Linked DNA regions of Homo sapiens: regions 1 and 3 are each linked to region 2. The links are contacts of gene promoters, found by promoter capture Hi-C in blood cells and fetal thymus (Javierre and others, 2016). All regions are on one chromosome and are shown on one strand. The core of a region is centred on a gene start or on the middle of the fragment in contact, and the rest is flanking DNA. Distances in the headings are between cores, read along the strand shown.

The links. The method cuts DNA at HindIII sites, captures the fragments that hold promoters and counts their contacts. A CHiCAGO score of 5 or more calls a contact.
Region 1: a contact is called between a fragment that was not itself captured here and the fragment with the promoter of NCOR1 in region 2, in 11 of 17 cell types (M2 macrophages, M0 macrophages, total B cells and 8 more). The highest score is 12.8, in M2 macrophages.
Region 3: a fragment that was not itself captured here is called in contact with the fragment with the promoter of NCOR1 in region 2 in 1 of 17 cell types (endothelial precursors); the score reaches 7.1 in endothelial precursors.

Annotation. Positions count from the first base shown.
Region 1 is chr17:16,344,316-16,348,789 of GRCh38, forward strand. It overlaps CENPV (centromere protein V), which reads right to left. Exons shown (of 5, transcript NM_181716.3): 3 at 4,301-4,370; 4 at 282-396. Among named protein-coding and RNA genes, the nearest start is that of CENPV, 6.9 kb to the right of the region's middle. The HindIII fragment of the contact is 3,711 bases long and covers 1-3,571 here.
Region 2 is chr17:16,214,092-16,218,743 of GRCh38, forward strand. It overlaps NCOR1 (nuclear receptor corepressor 1), which reads right to left and starts at 1,443. Exons shown (of 46, transcript NM_006311.4): 1 at 1,271-1,443. It overlaps PIGL (phosphatidylinositol glycan anchor biosynthesis class L), which reads left to right and starts at 3,119. Exons shown (of 7, transcript NM_004278.4): 1 at 3,119-3,370. The coding sequence starts at 3,136. RefSeq lists enhancers at 239-1,155, 1,156-2,071, 1,649-1,708, 2,895-3,144 and a silencer at 909-1,378. The HindIII fragment of the contact is 4,024 bases long and covers 1-3,006 here.
Region 3 is chr17:16,069,736-16,074,156 of GRCh38, forward strand. It overlaps NCOR1 (nuclear receptor corepressor 1), which reads right to left. Exons shown (of 46, transcript NM_006311.4): 28 at 3,694-3,834; 29 at 2,410-2,493; 30 at 1,674-1,930; 31 at 430-790. Among named protein-coding and RNA genes, the nearest start is that of TTC19, 72 kb to the left of the region's middle. The HindIII fragment of the contact is 1,028 bases long and covers 1,904-2,931 here.

The DNA of each region.
Region 1 (4,474 bases), core at 466-2,965, 130 kb after region 2:
AGCAACACCAGCTCTACCAGCACCAGTGAATAAGAATCACAACCTGGATGGGCTCCAAGTCCAACTTCACCACATTCAGATATGGGATTCAGAAAAGTTTCACCGGAGCCCGACTCACATTCTATCATGTGGAAAGCGCTCTGCTGAGGAGCCCTGTTCCTCTAAGATACGCATGTGACAGGGTCTAGTCAGCATCCCACCTGTCCAAATAAGACTTTAAATGAGAGCACCATGGGCCTCTCTGTGTCCCCCTGAGCTTGCAGTCCATCCCCTTTACTCACCGAAGCCTCCGGGGTTTGATCGTGGAGTATAGAAGCTCTGAACGCCACATCTCTTACAGAAGGTATGCTGGGCTTTGTGAGTATTGAACGTGTAAGTCGTTATGTGCTCAGCTCCCTAGGTGAAAACAGACAAACGGTATTCTTTTTTACAAAGAGATTTATTTATTTAATTTATTTATTTATTTATTTATTGAGACAGAGTCTCCCACTGTCTCTCAGGCTGGAGTGCAGTGGCGCAATCTTGGCTCACTGCAACCTCCACCTGCATGGGTTCAAGAGATTTTCCTGCCTCAGCCTCCCAAGTAGCTGGGATTATAGGCGCGTGCCCCCATGCCCAGCTAATTTTTTGTATTTTTAGTACAGACAGGGTTTCACCATGTTGGCCAGGTTGGTCTCGAACTCCTGACCTCATGATTCACCCACCTTGGCCTCCCAAAGTGCTGGGATTACAGGTGTGAGCCACTGCGCCTGGCCCCAAAGACATTTATTTTTATGTCACTTAAAAAATACACCTTTGTAGCCGGGTGTGGTGGCAGGCGCCTGTAGTCCCAGCTACTCGGGAGGCTGAGGCAGGAGAATGGCATGAACCTGGAAGGCCGAGCTTGCAGTGAGCCGAGATCATGCCACGGCACTCCAGCCTGGGCAACAGAGCGAGACTCCGTCTCAAAAAAAAAAAAAAAAAAAACACCTTTGGCCAGGCATGGTGGCTCATGCCTGTAATCCCAACACTTTGAGGCCGAGGCAGGCGGATTGCTTGAGCCCAGGAGTTCAAGACCAACCTGGGCAACATGGCAAAACCCTGTTTCTACAAAAAAATATAAAAATTAGCCAGGTGCAGTGGCACACATCTGTAGTCCCAGCTACCTGGGAGGCTGAGGTAGGAGCATCAGTTGAGCCTGGGGAAGTAGAGGCTGCAGTGGGCTGAGATCGCACCATTAAAAAAAAAAATCTTGAAATAACTTAATGGCAGGAGCTCTTCTGTAGGGCTCTTTGTACTAAGAGGCCATTTCCTATCTCCAGAAGAGACTGGGACCTTCTTGAGGACAGAGACCCATCTACACTATCCAGAGACATGTCAGTCTGGAGCGTGACAGCTCACAGCTTCCCTTAGGTCAACGGCATACAGAATTCAGCCTTGAGCCTTCCCTGATACATCACATCAGGGAGGGAAAGTGCTTGCTTCCCAGGGCCTATGTGGAGAGACAGTTCACCCAAGGGACTGGCTCTCCATGTCCCCAAACAGAACGGCTCAAGGTCTTAAGAAAACTGATGGCTGTGCTTAATTTATCCACAAAGGACAAACCAGGAAAAAAATATTTGCCAGACGTCATAGACAGGCTAATTTCCTTAATGGATAATACAAACGGGAGACTGGACAAAGGACATGAACGGACAGTTCAGATAGAAAGAAAAATAAATCACTCTTTAGCCTATGAAATGCTCACCAAAGGAACTTCAATGAGATGTATTTCACTGTCAGGTGGGCAAAATCAAAGCCGTTAACATGGTATTGACAAGTATGTAGAGAAATATGTGCTCACATATATCAGTCACAGGAACAGGAATTGGTACAATTTAGCAACATCTACCAAAATTTTAAAGTGTACATATGCTTTAGCACACAATTCCATTTCTTGAAATTTATTATACAGATATATTCCAAATGTCTCAATGACATAGGTATATAGATACTATAGCACTGTTTATGAAGGCTAAAGATTGGAAAAATTGAAAATGTCCCTCAATAGAGGACCGGTTAGGCATTATGGACACTCATAAAATGAAATATTCTCCAACTTTTGAGAAGAATGAGACAGCTCTACAAAACTAACATGGAACAATTGCCAAAGTTACAAAGTAAAGCAAGGTATAGGCCAGGCGCAGTGGCTCACGCCTGTAATCCCAGCACTTTGGGAGGCCAAGGTGGGCAGATCACTTGAGGTCAGGAGTTCAAGACCAGCCTGGCCAACATGGTGAAACCCTGTCTGTACTAAAAATGTAAAAATTAGCCAGATGTGGTGGCGGGCACCTGTAGTCCCAGCTACTCAGGAGGCTGAAGCAGGAGAATCACTTGAGCCTGGGAGGCGGAGGTTACAGTGAGCCGAGATCACACCACTGCACTCCAGCCTGGGCAACAGAGTGAGACTGTCTCAAAAAAAAAGTTAAGCAAGGTATAAAACAACGTACGTGGTATGCTACCATTTCTTTTTTTTTTTTTAAGGCTATATACTGGTATGTGTGGTGTTTTTGTTTTGTTTTGTTTTGTTTTTTTGAGACAAGATCTCACTCTGTTATCCAGGCTGGAGTGCAGTGGTATGACGACAGCTTACTGCAGCCTTGACCTCCCAGGATCAAGTGATTCTCCCACCTCAGCCTCCCGAGTACCTGGGACTATAGGCATGCAACACCACACCTAGCCGATTTTTTATTTTTTGTAGACATGGGGGTCTCGCTATGTTGTCCAGGCTGGTGTTGAACTCCTGGGCTCAAGTGATCTGCCTGCCTTGGCCTTCCAAAGTGCTGGGACTACAGGCATGAGCTACTGTGCCTGGCCTGTATGTGCTTTTATATGCATATGTATCTTTGAAGAGGGATCCAAGAAACAGTGGCTTACCTTTAGGGAGAGAAATCAGACAGCTGAAGGGGAAGGGGTGGAGGTTTCTTATCCTTGTTAACCCTCTTTACGCTTCCCCAGCCATACCGTCCAGAATTGTGCTTCCTATAGAAATAGCTCCCTGAGGAGCCTTGCTCACTCCATAGCCACTGCAGCACAGAAAAGCAGCGAAGGACTGCCAAGTGGTCCCAAGCCATCCAGCATTATCTGGATGGAATTAAAGCCCCGCCCAACCCCACATTACCCATAATGTGCTAAAAGTCTTTTTTAAAAAATCTGTATTCTTTAACCTGGAGATTTTCTTTCTCTCTTTTTTTTTAACTGCTCCTTGTAGAGCAGGGTGTAGGAAGTGTGCCCAGAATAGCCAGAGAACTTATTTCTAAGAGAATTGATCCTAAAGAAGAAATTTCTAAATTGTCAAAAATGTATACCAAGGAGGTTCACCAGTGTTGTTGATAATCAGAAAAAAACGGGACTCAACTGCAATGATGCAGAGACAGTGATGGGGTAAGTAGACCAGGAAATCGGCTGTGGGGAAGAGGGAGACTGGGGCATGGGGACAGTAGGGAAAGATTTTTCACTGTGTATATACACATTTTCTTCTACCTTTCAAATTTTGTACCAAGTACAAAAAATTCCCCAAAATAATAAAATTAAAGTTACAAATAAGTATATAAGCTTTTCATTGGGAAATGAGATAAGCAGTTTATCAACAAAAAGAATGGTAAAATTCTACTTAATAAACATAAGACAATAGGTTTAGATGTATTTCTCAGAGTAGAAAATAATACACAAAGACAGACACCAAAATATTAACAGTGGTTACCTTTAGTTGACAGGATTTGGGTGATTTTATTGTTTTTTGATTCTCTGAATTTGAAAATGTTTCCACAATACCAAATAGGCCTCCAAAAAATAAAGGTAAAAAATAACACAACCTTTTATTTTTTATTTTCATTTTTTTTGAGATGGAGTTTCACTCGTCACCCAGGCTGGAGTGCAATGGTGTGATCTCGGCTCACTGCAACCTCCACCTCCCAGGTTCAAGTGATTCTCCTGCCTTGGCCTCCCAAGTAGCTGGGATTACAGGCATGCACTACAACGCCCAGCTAATTTTTGTATTTTTAGTAGAGATAGGGTTTCACCATGTTGGCCAGGCTGGTCCTCAACTCCTGACTTCAGGTGATCCATCCATCTTGGCCTCCCAAAGTGCTGGGATTACAGGCGTGAGCCACTGTGCCGGGCCCACCTTTTAAATGTCAACCTGAAACCAAAGCCCGTGAGAGGCCCTGCTATGCTCCAGGCCCCTCCCATGCTACAGACGGCATGCTAACAGTTGGGTGGGGGGTCCTGTAAATCTCACCAATGGGTTCTGCACTCCTTGACCCTGCTCTTAAGCACTGACCTTCAGGAGCTTGAAGCGAGAAGCTGGAACAATGAAGTGTCTATTCTGCTTCTTCTTGCAAATGCTGCAACTACAGAAAGACAGAGCAAATTCCAGATTGTGAGCAGCCACCTGCATCCTCTATGCCTGAGCGGCCCAGCCATGAGAGCCAGCCGACCCCACAGATGATGCCCC
Region 2 (4,652 bases), core at 193-2,692:
CTCTCCAGTAACTTGCGGTTACTTCTTCTGTAATTGTTACCCTTGTCTAAATAACATTCTAAAATTGGTCTGCTCCTGAGCCCGGGCAAGTACAAGTTGGTTCATCCAATAAATATCTTCATGAAAAGGTACATCAAAACATTTTAAAAAGCTATTAAAAATTAAACGATGCCATCAACTCTTCAGTTATCCACAGGACAATCACATGTGACCCAGCATCAGCAGCTATTGATCAAGATATATTGAACGAATGAATGAATCTTTGTAGGCATTTTTAAATCCCGGGCCTGTTGCTCCTTGCACAGTGCCATGTTCAGCCTTCCATCACTGCCTCACCAGGGTGCACACAAGGAATGTAAATTTCAATATAATTAGGATATAATTAGAGAAGCAAATCTGATGCAGGTTTACATACTAATCCCAAAGATTAGAATTACCTATACTACTACTCTCCAAGGTTAACTCTGTGGAAGAGGCACCGCAGCATGCAACATCACATAAAGAAAACTGACACTTCCTGAGCAAATAGTTTTCGTCCATATCACTTATTCCCATCCATTCCTTTAATACATGACTATTCCTGATCCAGTTAATTTGAAGAATTCAGTCTCCTCTCCATAAAGGCTGATTTCACAACTACAGTTTCTCAAATTCCTCTCTCCCCAAAAAGGGGTGCACTTACGGACTTCGCTTAAGAAAACACCAACAATAAACGGCAGAAGGTATAGTGTTCGGATCTTTGCCATCTCCACCAGTACCCAGCCTTCGCCATTACACCCTGAAGCGGTCTGTTAGAAAGGTGAACTAATTTACTCTGCACGCACTTGTCCATGGCTGTCAACCTCCGCAGCCCCTTCTACACTTCCAAGTCGGCCACCAACTCCGCCTCAGTGAGCCCAGGCCCGCCACCTGCGCCGGCCCCACCCGGGGCACCGGCTGCCCGCTCTCCCTCGCAGGCCCTGTAGGCTCCGCACGCCCCTCCGCACAGGACACCTCGGGGCCAGCCCCGGCCCGGCCACAGCCCATTCTTCCTCCAAACTCCATAAGCCTCCGCTAGCCCAGCCCGAGCTCCCCGCCGCGCCCGGCTCTCTCCTGGGCTGCCGAGTGGAAGAGGCCAGGCGGCCAGGACGGGTCCCGACCTGCCCAGGCCTGCGACACCCCCCGCCCGGCGGAGAAACCGTCCCAGCGGCTGCTGCCCCGGGAGCCCTCGGAAGCCCCCGGACTAGCAGGAGCCCGGAGGCCGGGGTTGCAGGCGCCAGGGCCTACTCACCGGGAGCTGGCTAAGCGTGGGAGCCGACGTGCGCCCCGGCCTGAGGAGTGGGACGCGGCCACGGCGCGCGGCCCTACACCGGGACCTCGTTCGGCGCGGCGAGTCGGACGCTCACTCCAGCCGCCGCCGCCGCCGCGGCTGCTGCTTCGCCACCTTGGCCGCCATCTTGACTCAACCCCTCTCCCTCCCCCCAGCCCGCGGAGCCGCGGCTAAGGCGGCTCCAGCGCCGGCTCCTCCTCCTTCCGGAGAGTTGGGAGACCAACTCCCTCCGCTGGCCGGGCGCCTCTCCTACCTCGGCGGAGCTTCCCGGGTCGCGCTGCGCCCGGTCTCTTCATGTCTCCTCTAGGCCTGGCAGCGGCGGTCCTCTCGGACGGATACGGGGCCGAGCAGCGCCCAGCCGGATCCAGCGCTGCTGCCATCGTGCCCTGGGCTTGTGCGCCCCCCGCCTGCCCGTCTGTTCCGCGCGCCCGAGGCCTTCCTCAGGCGTGGGAAAAGGAAAAACTCCAGGCCGTGGAAGGGACCCTGCAAACCCCTCCGCGGCGTGGTGGGGCGGCGGCGGCCTCCTCTGGCCGGAGCTGCGTACAGGGAAGCCGGTCCCCTCGTGGCTGGGAGCTGGAGGGGTGCATTTCGACCTGCCCAAGATACTTTCTAGGGCTCTGGCTGGAATTCGCACCAAGCCCTCACTGAAATGCTGGGCGAGGCCGATTTGTCCACGATGTTGCTCCTTAACCTTAAGTTACTTGCAAGAGGAGCCTGTGGCCCTCGCGACTGTTAAGTGCACGCTCAGCCTCACCCTGCTGGGGAAACGACGGTTCCTCGTAACCGCACGCATACGTTCCTTTAGAAAAGCCAGGCCCGACCGGACGCAGTGGGTCACGCTTGTAATCCCAGCACTTAGGGAGGCCGAGGCGGGCCATCACTTAAGGTCAGGAGTTCGAGACCAGCCTGACGAACATGGAGAAACCCCGTCACTACTAAAAATACAAAAATTAAGCGGGCGTGGTGGCGCGCGCCAGTAATCCCAGCTACTGGGGAGACCGAAGTGGGAGAATTGCTTGAACGCGGGAGGCTGAGGTAGCAGCGAACCTAGGTCGCGCCACTGCACTCCAGCCTGGGCGACGGAGCCAGACCGTTTCAAAAAAAAAAAAGAAAGGGCCGGGCGCGGTGGCTCAGGCCTGTAATCCCAGCACTTTGGGAGGCCGAGGCGAGCGGATCACGAAGTCAGGAGTTCGAGACCAGCCTAGTTAACATGGTGAAACCCCCTCTCTACTAAAAATACAAAAATTAGCTGGGCGTGGTGGCGCGCGCCTATAGTCCCAGCTACTCGGGAGGCTGAGGCAGAAGAGTCGCTTGAACCCGGGAGACAGAGGTTGCAGTGAGCCGAGATCGCTCCACTGCACTCCAGCCTGGGCGACAGAGCCTCTCAAAAAAAAAAAAAAAGGTAAAGAAAGCCATCCAAAAGTGAGAAGGAATAACAAAGTTGGTGTAACTGGCTATTTTGGAAAACTGTCATACGGATAACGGGCTGTCTAACCCTATAATTACGAGAAAGGCCCGAGTTTTAAGAAATGAATTCGAAAATGAAGAGGAAGGAACTCTTCCTATAAGTGGGAGCTTATATATAAGACGCTTCCTTTTAAACCGATTGTACAGTGTGGTAGGACTAGGGTAGGAAACTGGACGGCATGGAGACTTCTGTGTTAAAACACAAGAGAACCCTTAACGTTAAAACCTCAAGCTTCCGGAGCATGTCGGCGGGAGGGACTTAACAGCGGAACCCAACATTCCCCGGTGAAGTTTTCCAGCCGGAGTCAGGGTCAGAGGCAGCCTTTCCTACTGCGCAGGCTCAGTGCTGCTTACCCATCATGGAAGCAATGTGGCTCCTGTGTGTGGCGTTGGCGGTCTTGGCATGGGGCTTCCTCTGGGTTTGGGACTCCTCAGAACGAATGAAGAGTCGGGAGCAGGGAGGACGGCTGGGAGCCGAAAGCCGGACCCTGCTGGTCATAGCGCACCCTGACGATGAAGCCATGTTTTTTGCTCCCACAGTGCTAGGCTTGGCCCGCCTAAGGCACTGGGTGTACCTGCTTTGCTTCTCTGCAGGTAGGAGGCCATAGGAGGGGCGATGGGAGCCGGGGCTTTGAAAGGGATTTAAGTGCTAACCGATCTCAGTCGCCTTCTTCTCGAAGTTTTCCGTAGGGAGCTAAGTGAATACACCGAAGGTCTTACCTCTGAACCCCTCACAGCCTAGGGACAGGAGCGGCCGGCTTACCTGGTGGGTTGGGGGACGTCGGCAGCTCGCGTACTACGCCAGCAGGATTGAGGAGCAGAGAAACAGTTGCAGTTGGTTGTATTCAGTACCTGCATTTCCGTTGGGAACTCCACCTGTACTTGTTATTCTGTGGAACTTTTTTTTATTTGTAGAAGGAGCAAGAATATTGACCTTACTATATAGCACACGAAACAATCTATGCTGTATCGTGCCTGCTCAATCCTTAAAGTTAACTTCTAATGATAGTAAAAGACCTTCCTGCTGCCTTTAAAATGCAGCTTGTGCTAGTAACATGCATGTGTCAAATTGAAGAATTAGACATAGATGACTAGATAGAAAGTAATTTTGTAGGTAATTTTAGAGTTCAACTCCACCCAGCTTTCAGTGAAGGAACCTTTCAAATAATAGATTTTTGCTTACCATAGAGAAAAGATCAAATGACAAAGCAAATATTGACCATTAAGCTGGAATATGGTGATAATTGAACAGTTGTATAAATGAAGTAATTGAATTGTACACATACAATGGGTGAATTTTATGGCATGTCAAAGTATACCTCAATAAAGCTATTTTTTTAAATTGCCCATGACCTCTTTTCCCATTTGTTTGTGTGTCTTTCCAATTCTTTTTCTATACAGCTTCTTCACAGAAATCACATTTTATAAAATTTTATATCGTTTTTACTCGACATTACTTTTTCATTTATTTACCAAATACTTATTAAACATTTATGTGCTAGGCCTTATTCTATGCCCTAGGGATACAAAAGTGGAAAGCTAGATAAGAGCAGTGTCCTCATGAAACTTTAAACATCTACCTATATTAATTAGATCTAAATGTATAGCCTGTTAAATGGCTTCATCGGGATAAACCTTAATCATCCCTTATTGTTTGTACATTCAGAGGGTTTTTTCCTAGTTTATTGCAAAGAGCAGAGAACATCTTTATGTATTTTATATTATTTCATGAGTATTAATTTTTAAAATTGGCTGTTTTTAGGCTTTGCATTGCAAAACACATTCCCAAAAACAAAATGCCAACTTACTCTTTTTTTTTTTTTTTTTTTCTGAGATAGTCTCGCTCTGTTGCCCAGGCTGGAGTGCCGTGGCGTGA
Region 3 (4,421 bases), core at 1,168-3,667, 140 kb before region 2:
AACTAAGCTACAAAAAAACTAAGTAACTCATCTGAGTTGATGCAGTAAGAATGTTAATTCAAGCTTATGCAGTCTTGTTCCAGAGGCTACTTACAGCTTTCACACCACACTGCCGCTGAAGGAACAATGTCAAAACTGACTTCCAGAAAACCTTATGCAATTGGCTGAAAATCCACTCTAAAAATATACTTACTCTATAGCATTTCTGGACTGCATCATAATCTGCACTTGATTTAAATATCAGGTATTTTACTTAAATTATGCCTACTTTTAAATTAGTAGCCTTCCATACTCCTAGACTCAAGCAAGACCTGTAGATCTTGGGATACTCTAAAGCTGACAATTTGATATTTACTACTTGACAAAGGTTTTTTTTTTTTTTTTTAAATGCAATAAAAAGTATCAGACCAAGCAACAAAAGTAACATACCATCAGAAGTTCTGTTCATCATGGGTGAGCCTCTGGACATGGTGTTTTGATAACTCACAGGGGTCCTCCGTGCACTGGTGTCATCATAAATCCCAGGGCTCAGTTGTGCTTTGGGAGCTTCATGCAGTGTGGACCTAAGAACGGAGGGGCCAGAGCTTACCACTGACGTGTGCCGGGAACGCACGGTCTCGCCTGCTTTCACATCCTCATATTTTCCCCGTTCTACCACTTTTATGTTCTCTGGCACAATTTCCAGCGGAGGCATTCCACGGGATAGTTTGCTAGGCCCCGTGATTAAGGATTTGACATTGTGTTTGATGGCAGATTGACCTGAGTTGTTGTCAAACTTTATTGGTGTGCCCTAAAGGGAAAGAAACAAACATTACAGGTAGCAAAGTCATCTGGCTACTTTTCTATCTCAGGTCTATGTCTGGCCCATGGCAGTTACAGTTCACTGTGGTGATCTTTTTTGGTCTGTTTACAAATCTCAATCACAACCCCACTGATCCCAAGCTGCATACTTTCCCACATTCCACACTCTATGCTATAGACATAAGAAAACCTGATGATAAGAAGTACACAAGGCCAGGCATGGTGGTTCACACCTGTAATCCCAGCGCTTTGGGAGGCTGAGGTGGGCAGATCACCTGAGGTCAGGAGTTCGAAACCAGCCTGACCAACATGGAGAAACCCTGTCTCTCCTAAAAATACAAAATTAGCCAGGCGTGGTGGCAGGTACCTGTAATCTCAGCTACTCGGGAGGCTGGGGCAGGAGAATCGCTTGAACCCAGGAGGCGGACGTTGCAGTGAGCCAAGATCGTGCCATTACACAAAGGCCAAGCACAGTGGCTCACGCCTGTGATCCCAGCACTTTGGGATGCTGAGATGGGCAGATCACTTGAGCTCAGGAGTTCGAGACCAGCCTTGGCAACATGGCAAAGCCCTGTCTCTATAAAAATACAAAAATTCTGGGTGTGGAGGTACATGCCTGTAGTCCTAGCTACTCGGGAGGCTGAGGTGGGAGGATCGCTTGAGCCCAGGAGGTCAAGGCTATATAGTGAGCTGTGATCACACACCGCACTCCAGCCTGGTCCACAGAGGAAAAAAAAAAAAGGTACAGGAAACTTTCATGTTTACTTCCAGGAGGTCTGACATCATAAGAACCACTTATAATTATTAAGTCACACTTTTTTAAATGTTCCATAAATATCAGTTACTGACAAAAAGAGCCAAAACTTAGTTACCTGGGAAATGGAACCCTCAATTATCGGCCGTGTGCTCTGGACCACTTCTGGAGTTTTCCGACTTTCCTGAGTTAAAATATCTTGCCTTGGAATCTCATGAATGGAACGCCCCATTTCTTTGATGGTGGTGATGCCATCATATGGTTTTCCTTTGGTAATGGCACCTTCAAATGCTCGTATGGGAGGACTTTCCCTTTTAATTTGTTTGGGATATTTAAGGCCATCTTCAAAGCTTTCAGTTGTTGCTCTTGGTGTCCCTTGAAAAAGAATTCAGGAAACATTAAAATAATGCTGATGGTTGCACAACAATGCCACGGAACTGTGCACTTAAAAATGGTTAAAATGGTAAATTTTGTTACATATATTTTAACATAATTTAAAATAATGCCTTGACATCTTGTAGTTTCTAATTAACTTTCTGTTTACAGTAGATCCTCAAATCAGTATTTATCAATCATTATTTCTTTAGGGTTGCTTGAGATATGATATTAATGCATCATTCATAATAGTCACAGAATGGTTCTTGCATAATAAAGATATCTCTATATTAAAAGATTAAGCAACTATCATCTTCCAATAAATTATGTAGCTCAGAGGCAGAAAAGTAATAACCAAGACTTTAATATTTCAAAAGGGAAAATAACTTGAAAAGCAGAAATACACTGTAAATTAATGTCAAACTATTTTGCCAGGGAGGCAGTTATAAATAAAAATGCAAAACAAGCAGAAAGTTTACCCTGCATTATGGAGCCAGACAATACAGTCCTTTCTTTGAGGTCAGAATGAGGACTCCCCCTGGGTAATGCTCGGCATATCAGCCCTTCCAAAACAAGAAAGCAATTCAATTATTCAACATAATGTATATGTCAACTCACATATACTGAATGCTGTTCTTAAAGTCTATGTTTTTGATAAATGCTCTATGAAGGAAGGAATGTCAATTTAAGTTTGTGAACTATCCAGAAGTACCTAATATGACATCACACAGTCCTTTGTAAATATTTTCCTAAATAAAAAATGGCCACCAAAGGCATCTAATGAAAGGTTGAAAAGGAAAGATACCTTCAAAGTTAAATCTAAAATCCCAACACTTCTTTATCAAGAGGAAAGAAGATACAGGATTGGAAACCATTGCTTAGCTTTGAAATATACTTGTGATAAAGGGAAAACGGGAAATATGGATACCATAAAAATAGGGAAAATGTATTAAATGAAACATGCAAATTGAAACGAAAGAGTTGTAAATAACCTCCTAAGAAGCTTCACATTATTGTTGCTGATAAATATAAATCAAGGGTTAGAAATAACCACACATATTTACAGTAAAAGTGTGTGTTTTTAACATAGAGAAAAATACAGCTCTTAGAAAATTACACAGGACTTACCCTGCTTTTAGTATTTCATCTAGCTTAAAATTGGTTGAGGCAGGTTAAGATTTAAACAAAGTGGGCCATTAACAAAACAAAATCATACTGATCATGTACTGAAGCCATATCACATGAGCAGCACCAGTTCAGACACCTGCCTCTAACCCTCACACAGTGTTAGGTACGATCCCTTAATTTACAGAGGAAGAAACAGGCTCAAAGGAATTTTACCAGGGAAGGGTGAAGCTGAAATTTAAATTCATGTCTTTATCCATTACACCACTTTATCTGTCTCACAATTCAAAAAGAAGTTCTCATAATAAACTTTACCTTTTTTAACTCACTTAGCTGAAACAGGAATAATCTGCAAATTGTATGAGCATTCAAATATGAACATTCTAATAGTAACCTATGATATGACCAATTACGCTTAAATTTGACTTCCTTCCATTGTTATGTGCCACTTTATATACAGATATAAACTTAATATAAATATATATTTCAGGTGGAAATGACAGAAATTGCATACAACTTAATATAAATATACATTTCAGGTGGAAATGACAGAAATTGCATACAACTTAATTCAACAATGCAAAATTACTATATAAAATAACATGTATCAAAATAACATTCTGAAAACAATGCTTTACCCTCTAACGGTGCTGATACAGGAGACTCCCTCATTGACATCCCTTGCTTTATATTTCCTTCCACTGATTCATAGCTTCTCTTTAAACTGATTTCATGAGCTGTTCTTGGACTCCTAGTCCCTTCTCGGGCATTCTTAATATCTACAGAATACACAAACAAGACTTGCTCAGACGGAGCACATGGTATACAATGTACAGTAAATAGGTTAGTTTCATAGTCTATCTTATAAAAATAATAATATTAAAACTTGTCTTAACCTACAATAAAATATGTGTAGATGATTCATGAAAATATTTTCACTCATTCAAATGTGTTTATTGATGCCTACTGTGTGCTAGGCATAAGCTAGGCTTGCAGGTAAGATTAACAAATTAAGTCCCTTTCTGCATGAAACTTACACAATAATGTAGGTACAGATTATGTAGTAAAATAAGCTATGAAAGGAGAAGTATAATGTGCTATGAAAATGCTAGGAGAGAAACCTAACACCTCCAGGTTCAGATAAGCCTGCTCAGAGGAAGCAATGTGTAAGCTGAGAATGAAGGATGAATAAGAGTTGTTCAAGTCAAAGGTAATAGGAGGAAAAAGTACAGGCAGTGTGAACAGTGAACACGAAGACCCCAAGGTGAGACAGAGAAAGGTACAATAAAAGAACGTAAGCGTGGTAACCGGCTAATGTGTAGAGTGGAGTTGGGAGGAAGAGTGTGGGGGAGGTAAATATAGGGGA